Regions from separate parts of the Homo sapiens genome. Here regions 1 and 2 are each linked to region 3. Evidence: promoter capture Hi-C in 16 types of primary human blood cells and fetal thymus (Javierre and others, 2016). All regions are on one chromosome and are shown on one strand. The core of a region is centred on a gene start or on the middle of the fragment in contact, and the rest is flanking DNA. Distances in the headings are between cores, read along the strand shown.

Region 1 (4,024 bases), core at 902-3,401, 540 kb before region 3:
ACCCTAACCTCCCAGTTGTTACTTTTTTTTTTGAGACGGAGTTTCACTTGTCACCCAGGCTAGAGTGCAGTGGTGCGATCTCAGCTCACTGCAACCTCTGCCTCCCGGGTTCAAGCAATTCTCCTGCCTCAGCCTCCTCAGTAGCTGGGATTACAGGCACGCACCACCACACCCGGCTAATTTTTTAGTAAAGATGGGATTTCACCATGTTGGCCAGGCTGGTCTCAAACTCCTGACTTCAGGTGATCCACCCACCTTGGCCTCCCAAAGTGCTGGGGATTACAGGCGTGAGCCCCCGCGCCTGGCCCAGCTGTTAAAGCTAACAGATGTTCTGTGCCCTTGTCCATGCTCCTGCAGTGTCTGTCACCATAGCCTCTTCCTCCTTTTTGAAATACCTGCCATCCCTTGGTTTTCCTCCTACCTCTCTGGACAGTTCTTTTTAGTCTCCATCGAGGTTCTTCCTTTTTTTTTTCTTTTTTCAAGACAGGAGTGCAGTGGCACGATCTCAGCTCACCACAACCTCTGCCTCCCAGGAGAATCAAGTGATTCTCCTCTCTCAGCCTCCCGAGTAGCTGGGATTACAGGCACATGCCACTACCGCCCAGCTAATTTATGTATTTTTAGTAGAGACGGGGTTTCACCACGTTGGCCAGCTGGTCTCAAACTCCTGGGCTCAAGCAATCCGCCCGCCTCAGCCTCCCAAAGTGCTGGGATTACAGGCGTGAGCCACCACGCCCAGCCAAGGTTCTTCCTTAAATGCCGATGCTCTCTGAAGTTTCAGCTTCAGCCCTTGCATCTTTCTGGTGGGATTGCTACTCAGGGCTTCAAGGGTCGCCCCTAGGAGTGACTCCAAGGTGGATCTCTCCATCTCTGCCTTGCCTATTTCCAGCCAGCTGTACTCCTTCTCCTGGGGAACGACAGGCTCTCCATGCTCAACACAGTAACTGCTCTCCTCTGACCACACCGAGATCAACTTCTATTCCATCTCCCATGTCCAGCAGACTGGAGAGTCTGGGAGTCAATCTCGAATCTTCTCTTACTCCTTACCTTTATTAAGGCACTGGGACCTATAGCTTTCACTTCTTTAATATCTCATATTGGTTCCTTCCTTTCCAACTTATCCTACAGACACTTCACTTCAGGCTCGCCATTCTGTCCTGAATCACATCAGATGATGTCGAGTCTATGCCTCCTGACCTTGTCCCTCCCCAACCCAATATACCCTACAACACAGCCACTGGGGGTATTTCAATGCGCCATGGCTGTGTCACCATCAGCTTCACCGCTCTCTCTTGGATGGCTCCTTGTTGTCCAAATGAGGCAAAAACTACTATGGCTGGTTTCTGCCAACCTCTAGTCTCACCTGTCCCCAGTTCCCCACTCCTGCCTCTGCTCCAGCCAAGCTGAATACTTGCTAGTCCCCAACACGTGATGGACCTACAGGTGTTTTGCCCCTGTGAAGCTGCATATGCTGGTGGGTCTGCACCACTCCCTCTACAGGGCCTCCTGCTTGACCAGAGTAAGACAACTTCCTTAGGGAGTCTTCCAGGGTCTCCTCTTCCACTCTCACCCCAGTGTTCATCAGTTGCCCTCTTTCTGTGCTCCTATAGCATCCGGGGCACACTTCTATTACAGCACCTGTCATCCAGACTATCTCCCCACTTTGGGAGGTCTTTGAAGGCAAGCACTATATTCTTCTTGTTTCTGCAGCACTATACATAGTGCTGGACAACACGGAGGGTGAGTGAATGCATGGATGGATGGGATGAATGCACCTGGTGAGGAGACAGTGGGGAGAGGTGCCACTGACCCTTGCTGAGTGGTCACGGCCTTTGAAGATTTCCCAGACAACCACTGGCCTGGCTCTGGTGTGTAGCTGGACTGAGTTCCCGCTAGGAAGAGGTACTAATGCTTCCACTGGGCTGGAGCAAGGGCCTGCATGGGACAAATACATTTTCACAGCCAAGCAAAATGGGGAAGTTCTAGAAGTAGGCTGAATGTTTTTTTAGGAACCTGTTTGGTTTGAAATCATTAGATAAATGTCATGGGTATCTAAATTTGGCTACAGAGAACCAGACTGTATATGTGCCTGATAAAGATAAAATGTTTAGACTACTTGGGTAGCCAAGGGTAGCTGAATCCCTGAGTGAGCTGGGTGGCCAGAGACTGGGGAGGCTGAATTAGAGTCTATCTTGTTGGATGTCCAACCTCCTGGGACATGGCTACAAACGAGAACGCTGGTACACAATAGTTGGTCAGACCATTCTGACAATGTGGGTGCTCGGCTAGGAAAACATTTAAAAGGCAGTGTTGTTGGAGGTAGTGAGCCAGGGAAAGGGTTGGGCTCCTCATTAACATGGAGCACGCCCCACCCATCCCTGCCAGGTAGCTCAGCCAGGGACTGCATAGATGAGCAGTCCAGGAACACAGACACTCTTTGATGCCAGCAAAGGAGCCTCTCTAGGCTTCAGGAAGAGCAGGCCCTACCTGTGTTTACACAGAACAGCAAAGGCTTTCCCATTCCCATCCCACTGCCCTCCTAGAGAGGACCGAGAGTCAGGAAGGGAAGGGTATGGTTTGTGGGTCTAGGCATTTTAGAGAGAAGTGCTGGGGGAAGATGCAAACAGTGCAGCAAGGTGTTTTAAAAACCCAGTTTAAAGAGTGTATGTTGCTAAGTGAATTACTGCTGAGCCAGAGGGCCTTCTACTCGAGATGTGGCCTGAACAGTTAGCCAATTTGCTTTCCAGTCTCCGTTATTCTCTATGTGGCTGATATAATATGAACTCCTTTCACACAGATGGATTATTTCCTTTGGGATGCATCTGGAAGGCAAAGCCTCCTTTTGAAAGCTGTCTCCCTCTCACCTGGGTCACATGGAGGTAGAGCTGACCCCGAGAAGGGTCCACCACTTCTAAGTTGAAGCATCATCAAGCTGAGGAGGGCAGCAGGAAGAGGCTGGCTCAGACAGGGAGGAAGGGTAAGGTTTGCTCACAAGCACTAGGAGGAGCAGGGAGGAAACGGCTACTCCCGGTGGCTGGGAGTAGATCAACCACAACATCACAGGAGAGGAAGGCAGAGGCCAATGGGACTTAACCCCCAAGAGGAGTCACTTCAAGAATGCCAGTGAAGACATTACTTGTAGCTCCTTTCAAAGCCATTCTCAGAGGTGTTAAATCAGCAAAGTCAATGAAACAAAGACAGAGGTGACCGACATGAGATGCAGTTAATGGAGATGAGCTTTTTAGAACACAGGCTCACGAACTGGTTTGAAATGGCCAGTGAGATGCAGAGGCACAGGAGTCATGTGTATGGCCCCAGGGTGTGGCAGGGTCAGCAGAGTGATCACAAGGATGGGAAGAGAGAAGCCCGGATAAACACGAAGGCAACGCCAGCTTTCATCTTACCACTTCGTCCTCGGAAGGCTTGAAAACACAAATTTACACTTAGTGGGGAGCCACGCCACACACAAGGTCACAAGTTAGGAGCACAAGGCTACTGAATGCTTCTTGGGGAGGACTGTTCATGTTAAATGGGCTAGCACGTTGGAGGCAGGCCTCCTCAGCATATACACAAAGCGAAATCAGCAGGAATTTAGAGCATTAAGATACATATTTTTTAAAGGCATCCACAACCCTTGTGATTTCTTTTTTAAAAAATCATATATAGTGAAAGTGGTCAGACAGACTGAAAAGTCCAACTTGAGTCCTCAACTCCTATTTTATTTGCTTTAAAAAGAACATAATGAGTAGATGAGATTTAATAGTTCAGTTCAGAGGCTTTGTGCTACAAGGGGTCAGGCAAGGAGAGTGGGCTTGGAGGTGGTATCTTAAGGAAAAGTCTAGTTTGGCCTAATTCTCTCTCTCCCTGTAAAAAGTAGGCAAATGACACCAAAAAAGCTCAAACAAAATATCTGCAGCAAGAACACATCAGTGGTGTAGGACTTCAAAAGTACCAGTGATTATAGCTGGTCAGTAATGTAATTGGAACGATCCTTGGAAGGGTCAATGGATGAAGAAGCTGTGCT
Region 2 (4,235 bases), core at 146-2,645, 600 kb before region 3:
CACATTTGGGGTATTCTGATTGAGTGGTGACTGGACCACATGCTGAGAAAGCTGTTCATTTGACAAAATGGCCTTAGCACCAATTGAGTGTCAACCACTGTGACATTTGGGAAGGGTGGGAAGTAATGAATGGCCCTACCCTTCCTTGATCTCGGCATAAGGGTCGGGGGTGGGGAGATTTGGGGATCCTCCACCCTAGTCCAGGGTCCCTCTTACTCACTCTTCAACAGATCTTTGTCTGCTACTCCCACCACAAGCTGCTCCTGGGCCAGGATGCACGCGACACTGAGCAACACCTTGTGGGCGTTGTGCAGGCGGTCAAACGTGCCACCGACAGCGCCACGGTAGTAGCCACGCACCGGCTGCTTTGGAGACCCGGCCACGGGGGAAGCTGGCCTGATCGTGGAGGGTAAGGGGACATCCAGGGGCTCCACGGGCACTTCTCCTATCCCATAATCGGAGTATAGCAGCACCGAGGCCAGTCGCGGACAACAGCTGTAACAGCTGGTGGCGTAACGCACTAGCTGCTGTTTGACCGGGTTGTACTGGCTTCCATCCAGGGTCTGGAAATCTGTCAACACGACTTCTGGCGGGTGGGCGAGATTCTGGACTGAGGTGGGCAGGGGAGGGAGAAAGGTGCTCTTGGTTCGGATATTGGTCAGTAGGATTCTGACGTCCAAGTGCCTGTGGACGTCGGCGCCAGCATAGAGGTGCGTGATGAAATCAAGAACCTCAAACGTGGCCTGCACGGGGCTGGACTGGGGCTGAGCCGGGCCCTCCAGGCTCATGCCCGGCTGCAGGTGAACATAGAGTGTGTGATTCACCAGCCGGGCCGCCGAGGTCAGGATGGAGGCCAGGCGAGGGGCTAGGGAGGCCAGCGGCGTCGTCAGCACCAGGAGACCCGACCGGAATACGGCCATGCTGCCCAGGCCTGCGGACAGTCAGGGAGACGAGGCGACGGTGACTGAAGGGCCTGCGGCCGAGGCAGAGGCCTGTATGGGACCTTGGACCCCAGAGAAGGAGGCCTGGAGCAGGGACGGGGTTTCAGTGCTGACCGACAGGAGCCGGGGGAGGGGACGGGGCCTGGTAGACGGCGCCTCGGGGCTGTGCTCTAAGCCTTGGTGTCCTCATTTCTCAGACGGGGCGGTGACTTCGCTGAACTGAGTCGAAATCCTGGGAGGGGGAAACTGGACAGGAACCCTTGTCACAGGGCTGGGGATCCAAAAATCCTGGGCCCTCTTGCTAAGCTGCACCAGGGTCTTCAAGGAATCGAAGAGGGAGGCTAAAGGGGGACGCTAAAGCTCACGTCGGCCCCCTACTCACTGAAACCTCAAGGCTTGGGTTCCACTTGCACCACCGCGGAGGCTTCCCTGGCTGCAACCCGGAAGCACTAACGGAGAAACCGCAACTCGGAACTACGGAAACGGAGGAAGGTCAAACGTCTCGACTTCGCTTCAGCGCGGGATTCTCGCGAGATTTCCAGTGGCATGGGCTGTGTCCTGCTGATGGGGTGGGGCTGATCCCGAAGGCTCTGGGAGTGGGTGAAGCCTTGATGCCGATCGGACCCCCGCTGGGACCGGGCGGAGAAAGGCAAGGCAGGTTTCAAAGCCCATTTCACAGATTCCCTTCTGGCCTGATGAGGAGAGATTAGTTTCAGCCAGGCCACCCAAGAGGCATCGGCAAAGCCAGAACTAACACCCAGATTTCCTTCATTCCAGGGACAGAGGTGGGGAATCACAGGGCTGCGCTGTATTAGCCCTCCTAGTACCCTCTCAGTCCGAGGATTCTCACATGGGAGGCTACTGGACAGGTCTGTCCACGTACCCATTTCACAGATGGAAAAACTGAGGCCTTGTGTGTACCTGGCTGCTGTAGGAGGCTCTCGCACCACCCAGATCCTCTGATGCGCTTGTTTGCGGGGTCTCTGTGGACAGGAGAAAAAGGCAAAGGCTGATTGGGCGCGGTGGCTCACGCCTGTAATCCCAGCACTTTGGGATGCCGAGGTGGGCAGAGCATCTGAGGTCGGGAGTTCGAGACCAACCTGACCAATATGGAGAAACCTTGTCTCTACTAAAAATACAAAATTAGACGAGCGTGGTGGCGCATGGCTGTAATCCCAGCTACTCAGGAGGCTGAGGCAGGAGAATCGCCTGAACCCGTGGGCGGAGGTCGCGGTGAGCCAAGATTGTGCCATTGCACTCCAACCTGGGCAACAAGAGCGAAACTCCCGGCCGGGCGCGGTGGCTGACGCCTGTAATCCCAGCACTTTGGGAGGCCGAGGCGGGCGGATCACGAGGTCAGGAGATCGAGACCATCCTGGCTAACACGGTGAAACCCCGTCTCTACTAAAAATACAAAAAAAAATTAGCCGGGCATGGTGGCAGACGCCTGTAGTCCCAGCTACTCGGGAGGCTGAGGCAGGAGAATGGCGTGAACCCGGGAGGAAGAGCTTGCAGTGAGCCGAGATCGCACCACTACACTCCAGCCTGGGTGACAGAGTGAGACTCCGTCTCAAAAAAAAAAAAAAAAAAAAAAAAGCGAAACTCCCTCTGGAAAAAAAAAAAGAAAAAAGAAAAAGGCAAAGGCTGGATACCTAGTGTGGGAGATTTACTGCGAAGCTAATGGGCGCTTGAAAGGCTGAGTGTGGAGGGGAAGCCAGGTTGCTATTAGAATACATCTCAGGTAAGTTGTGCATGGAGATCAAAAGGGAGAGAAGCCAGTCTCCAAGATTCCAGTAATGTGCCGTGGTATCCGAAACTTAAAAAAAAAAACAAAACTCACTTTTATATGTAATTTTGTGTTTATCTTTTGTATTCTTGAAGACGGTCTCCAAAAGCAAATAAGCCCCCAGCCCCACAAAACCTGGGCTTATGATGGAGAAAAGGAGATGCTATTTTAGATAAGGTGATTCAGGAAAACAGCAAAGACCTGGAGGAAGAGATACAGTCAAGGAGGGAAGAGTTGTAGAGCCACAAAGGTATTAAGGGACCAGGCTTCTCACAGGAGACATGTTAGATTTAAAGATAGGGTCTGATTTGAAGACACAAACAGCAAAGGCTGCCAGAGAATGTCCCAAGACATCTGGACACACAGTCTGACACACCACATACAGAGTCATTTTTATTGAGTAAATGTGTATTTTACTGCCTCCCACAGGGATGGACCAGTGAACAAAACAATGTCCCTGCCATCCTGGGGTATAGAGTACTGTGTGTCTTGGGGTTGCAGACAGGAATCATGCCACCATAAATAAATCTATAATACATGGCCAGGCGCGGTGGCTCACGCCTGTAATCCCAGCACTTTGGGAAGCTGAGGCAGGCAGATCACCTGAGGTCAGGAGTTCAAGACTAGCCTGGCCAACATAGTGAAACCCCGTCTCTACTAAAAATACAAAAAATTAGCTGGGTGTGGTGGCGGTACTTGTGATTCCAGCTACTCAGGAGGCTGAGGCAGGAGAATCGCTTGAACCTGGGAGGCAGAGATTGCAATGAGCCGAGATCACGCCACTGCACTCCAGCCTGGGTGACAGAGAGACTCCGTCTCCAAAAAAAATAAAAATTAAATTAAAAAACCCAAATCCATAATATATCTACTGGTGATAAAGGATAAGAACAAAAGTAAAGCAGAGTAAGGGAGCTATAGTGGAGAAGCTGAGAGGCTATTTTAGATAAGGTGGTTCAGGAAAACAGCAAAAATCTGAAGGAAGACATAGAATCAGAGATCAGGGAATGTGACCCAGAGGGGGCCAAGTACAAAGGCCCTGAGGCAGGAGGGCTGAACTGGGTGATGTAGATGGAGATTGGTGGGAGATGAGATCAGAAAGGGGGCAGGAACCAGATCAAAGAAGGTCTTGGAGAGCTTTGGGGAGAACCTTGGTGCTATGGTTCGAATGTCCCTGCCACAACTCATGTTGAAATAAAAAATTCAATTGCTACTGTCTTAAGAGATGGGACTTTTTTTCTCTTTGAGACAGGGTCTCACTCTTGTCCCCCAGGCTGGAGTGCAGTGGGTTGATCATGGCTCACAGCAGCCTCAACTGCCTGGGCTCAAGCAGTCCTCTGCCTTGGCCTCCTGAGCAGCTGGAACTACAGATGTGTGCCACCACACCTGGCTAATTAAAAAAAAAATTTTTTTTTTCATACAGACAGGATCTTGCTGTGTTGCCTGGGCTGGTTTCCAACTCCTGAACTCAAGCAGTCCTCCCACTTCAGCCTCCCAAAGTGTTGGGATTA
Region 3 (3,806 bases), core at 597-3,096:
CCAGCCGAAGTAGAGCGGCAGGAAGTCCTTCTCCAGCCCAGGCTTCAGCTTCTTCAGGTCATCAGCCGACAGCTGCCACTGGTTCTTCTCCTTGAGCTGGGCACAGTCCAGCCGCCACGCCGTCTTGGGCTCCACCAGCACCACCTGGTACTGGTACTGGTCGGCCATTTCAAAGAGCTGCTCCAGCCGTTCCCGTTCGTGGTTGGTGTCATCAAGCACAAGAATTCTGATGTCCCGGCGGCGGCAGTAGGCAGCCAGGTCCTCATCGAGCCGCTTGTACTCCTCGGAGAAGGCTCCTCGAGCGCCGGGGGTGATCTTGTAAGCGTCAGCCGACACCATCTTGGTGCCATCACGGTACTTGTCCACGATGACCCGTGCCAGCGTGGACTTGCCGCTTCCTGGCAGGCCGCGCAAGATGAAGAGCGTCTTGCACTCTAGCAGCGTGGCCACTGTGTCCTCATCCTGAAGGAAGGGAAACTGCAGCTCAGGCTTGTCCTTGGCCCCTGAGGATGACATCTTGCGGAAGAAGATCTTGGGCAGGAATGTGTGGCTTTTTCGGGAGAAGCCTCTGTTCTGTGTAAGGAGGGGAAGAGATGTCAGCCCAGGTCATTCGCGGGCTCCCCGCCGGCCTTACCCCTAGTCCCTAGACTGGTTGTGGGTGCCTTCCCAAGCGGGGCAGTGCTGGACCTTCTTTCCCTTTCGGTCCGGGAGCACCTTTCCGCTTCTGGTCGTGGAGGAGGAAGAGGGAAGCTTGTCTGAAGCTCTCCTAAGCGTGCGCTTTCCCCATTCCTGCCACTTCGGAAAGGTAAACGTGCTGGAGGCATGCGGGGCGCGCCAGGAGCCTGCGGTTCTGGGACTGGCCTCACTCTTATATGCTTGGCACCTACTAAGGACGTCCTCTTTGGAGGTGGGGGTCTCTGTGTCTGGGCCAAGCCACAGCTGCCACGGCTGAGTGCACAGAGAAGGGGGGGAGTGGAGAAGGGTTACCCCAAGACTGCCTCCCTTCCCCCAACAATGGCCGCAACAGATAATACTCTCTTGTCTGGCATGCGGGTACAATGGTCCCACAGAAGGGCTGGTGGGGGGCAGGGCAGGAGAGCACTGGACAAAGGCCCTCTTTCACCAAGCCTGCCACCTCCTCCTCTACCCTCTCCCGGCCCCCACAAAGTCGTGGTCTTTGTGCCTGTCCAGAACAGGGCAGCACAGGGCACCTGCAATTAGGATCCAGCTCTACCCGCCGCTGTGCTGTGTGTCAGAAGCGCCTCTCGGAGCCACTTGTTTTCCTATCTTCTAGAAGCCACAAGGGACGGCAGCTTTTACCGTAAAGGGTCCCCTCCTCTGAACTGGCTCCACCTCCCGCCCGCACCCGGGCGCGGGGCAGCGGTTCCGCGTGATGAGACTGGGCCCGGGGAGGGGGCGCCGAAGCGGCTGCCCCAGCGCGGGCCTGCGTGGGGTCGGGAGCAGCTCCCGGGCTCCCGGCCCAGGCCCACCCAGGCTCCCAGAGGCGCAGCAGCTTCTGCGGTCCCGAGTTCCCTCCTGAGAAACACCACCGTTTCCCTTTACAGCGGCCTCTCCGGCACCCCAAAACCCCTCCGCTTCTCCCAGACCTCAGGGCCGCCCTGAGTACCAAGAAAACTGGAAGTCGAACCCGGAGCCCCGGGTCCTCGTTTGCAAGACGCTTCCTCCCGAGGGGCCCCGACACTCGTTTCCCGCCCTGGTGCTACCCCGTGCCCGGCCCCGCCCGGCCTCTCACCATGATGAGGAGGGGCGCCACCGTCGCCGCCTCTGCCGGCACCAGCGCTCCGGGGCCGCCCGCCTGCGCGGAGGGACACGGGAGTCCAGCGGTGGCACGACCCGAGCCCGGCCGCTTTACATAGCCCGGGGGGCGGAGCGGGCACCCGGGCGGGCTGGGGGCGGGCCGTCTCCTCTGCGCGCAGGCGCTGCGAACCAAAACCCGAAACTCTCGCCGCGCGCGGGAACCTCGGCCCGGTCCCGCCCCCTGCGCGCGCCTGCTCCCCACGCGCACCCACCCACTGCGCCTGCGAGCTGAGCGGCCACTAGCTTTTTCTGCGTGTTGAGGGGTAACTCAGTCACCCTCCCCGGTCCCGTGGATTAGCAGGAAGTGAGTGAGGCAGGGTCGTGCAAAGTCGGATCCTGTCTTTAATTTTTGATATTTTATTCATCATGGACTTTTGCATTAATTAAAAACTTTTTTTTTTACCACATTGGATTAAAATATTATCATGCAATTTGCTGGCATTCCGGTAAACTCTGCATCTGAAATGCCTCACTGGCCTCATTCGTCCAGGCCCTGTGCCAGCCGAAAGTCAGTCTCAGCCCCGACCTTTCCTTCTAGGAGCTGTGGAGACAGACCAGGATGGCAATGGCCAAAGGGACAGATGAGTAACGGAGTGAAATCCTAACATCCTCTGAGGCCAGATCCTCAGCTGCCACCTCCTCTGTGAAACCACTGAGAGCTCCGTTGGATTTTTGAGTTTCCTGTCCAAGTGCTGTGCTAAGCACTCAGTCCTCGCAGCAACCCCTGAGGCAGGTATCCCATTGTTCAGAGGAGAAGCCAGCTTGGAGAGCCTGATTTACCTGATTATGCCACCCAGAGGTGTCAGAGGCGGAGTCTGTCTGCCCTCCCGACTCCCAGGCCACTCCCCTATCTTTGGCCTCACTCCCAGCATTCGCTTGGTTCTGGCTTGCGGCATTCTCCTACCTGTGACAGCTGGGGCCGCCCCACCACTGTTCCATCCATAAAGCCTCCCCGCTGTCCTGCGCACTGGAGGGACTCAGTCAGTCACCGGTGTGTGGGAAGCACCTCTCCTCCCAGGCCTTCCCCTCTCCTCCCTGTGACTTCTTGTTCCCTGTAGCGCCCGTATCTTCACCCTCCTGAAACCCTTTCTTCTTGGCACCTTTCTCATTTCTTCCACGATGCTCTTCCAAGAATGGGCAGGGGTGAAGAGGCAAAGTGACAGACTCAGGGTTTGCAAGAGTGAAAGACACCTATTTAATGGCAAAATAGTGATGGAAAGCAGCAGAAGTAAAACCCTCATTTTTCCTATAACAGACAAATCGCTTGAAAATCCAGTTTAATAAAATCCCATGATCCCTCTGAACACCAGCTTCCTGATCCTCATCTCTACCGATGGCTTCATTCATATTCCTTTTCCATCTCATTTCCTGTTTTTTTCGTTTCTCCTATTTCTCCAAATTGTGTTTTTCCCAGTTCTTCTGGCTCTCTTCTGCCCACTTCTGAAAGTTTCTTTAGTTCTTCTGGTTCCTGTCTGCTGAATTCTCCTGAGAGTCTTTGCTCTAATTCTCCCGAAGGCCTCCTATAAATTTCTCTTGACTCTCTTCTGCCAGCTTCTAGTAGCTTCCTGCCTGTTTCTCCTGATCTTGTGCCTAATTCTCCTGACAGGCCCTTGGCAACTGCTCCCAAATCGCTTCTGGCTTTTCCTGCTTCCACACTCTGCTTTCCGCTTGCTGGGCTCTGCAGAGCTTCCCCAAAAGCCTCATCGTCCTCATCTGTCTCTTTCTCATCCTCACTATGGTCCCACTGCTTCACCACCTTCTCGGGCTCATCTCTCACTCTCCTCATGTCCTTCTCTCTTGTTATTATTCTATCTTCATACAGTGAAGCTTCTGAAAAATAAGAGAAAAGCGGGAAGAAAGATAAAAGTTTGTTCATGTCAGGCCGGGTGCGGTGGCTCACGCCTGTAATCTCAGCACTTTGGGAGGCTGAGGCAGGCAGATCCCTTGAGGCCAGGAGTTCCAGACCAGCCTGGGCGACACAGTGAGAC

What was found. The method cuts DNA at HindIII sites, captures the fragments that hold promoters and counts their contacts. A CHiCAGO score of 5 or more calls a contact.
Region 1: a fragment that was not itself captured here is called in contact with the fragment with the promoter of CNP in region 3 in 2 of 17 cell types (fetal thymus and endothelial precursors); the score reaches 5.9 in fetal thymus.
Region 2: a contact is called between the fragment with the promoter of COASY here and the fragment with the promoter of CNP in region 3, in 2 of 17 cell types (total CD8 T cells and activated CD4 T cells). The highest score is 6.3, in total CD8 T cells.

The regions. Positions count from the first base shown.
Region 1 is chr17:42,507,970-42,511,993 of GRCh38, reverse strand. It overlaps ATP6V0A1 (ATPase H+ transporting V0 subunit a1), which reads right to left. Exons shown (of 22, transcript NM_001130021.3): 19 at 3,405-3,422. Among named protein-coding and RNA genes, the nearest start is that of MIR5010, 4.2 kb to the left of the region's middle. The HindIII fragment of the contact is 5,404 bases long and covers 1-4,024 here.
Region 2 is chr17:42,559,308-42,563,542 of GRCh38, reverse strand. It overlaps COASY (Coenzyme A synthase), which reads right to left and starts at 1,395. Exons shown (of 9, transcript NM_025233.7): 1 at 221-1,395. The coding sequence starts at 920. RefSeq lists enhancers at 870-1,059, 1,070-1,319. The HindIII fragment of the contact is 14,901 bases long and covers 1-4,235 here.
Region 3 is chr17:41,964,835-41,968,640 of GRCh38, reverse strand. CNP (2'',3''-cyclic nucleotide 3'' phosphodiesterase) reads right to left here and starts at 1,846. Exons shown (of 4, transcript NM_033133.5): 1 at 1,754-1,846; 2 at 1-573. The coding sequence starts at 1,756. ODAD4 (outer dynein arm docking complex subunit 4) reads right to left here. Exons shown (of 12, transcript NM_031421.5): 12 at 2,138-3,648. The coding sequence ends at 3,158. RefSeq lists enhancers at 1-256, 257-814, 815-1,372, 2,474-2,573 and silencers at 1,344-1,533, 1,664-2,103. The HindIII fragment of the contact is 2,895 bases long and covers 753-3,647 here.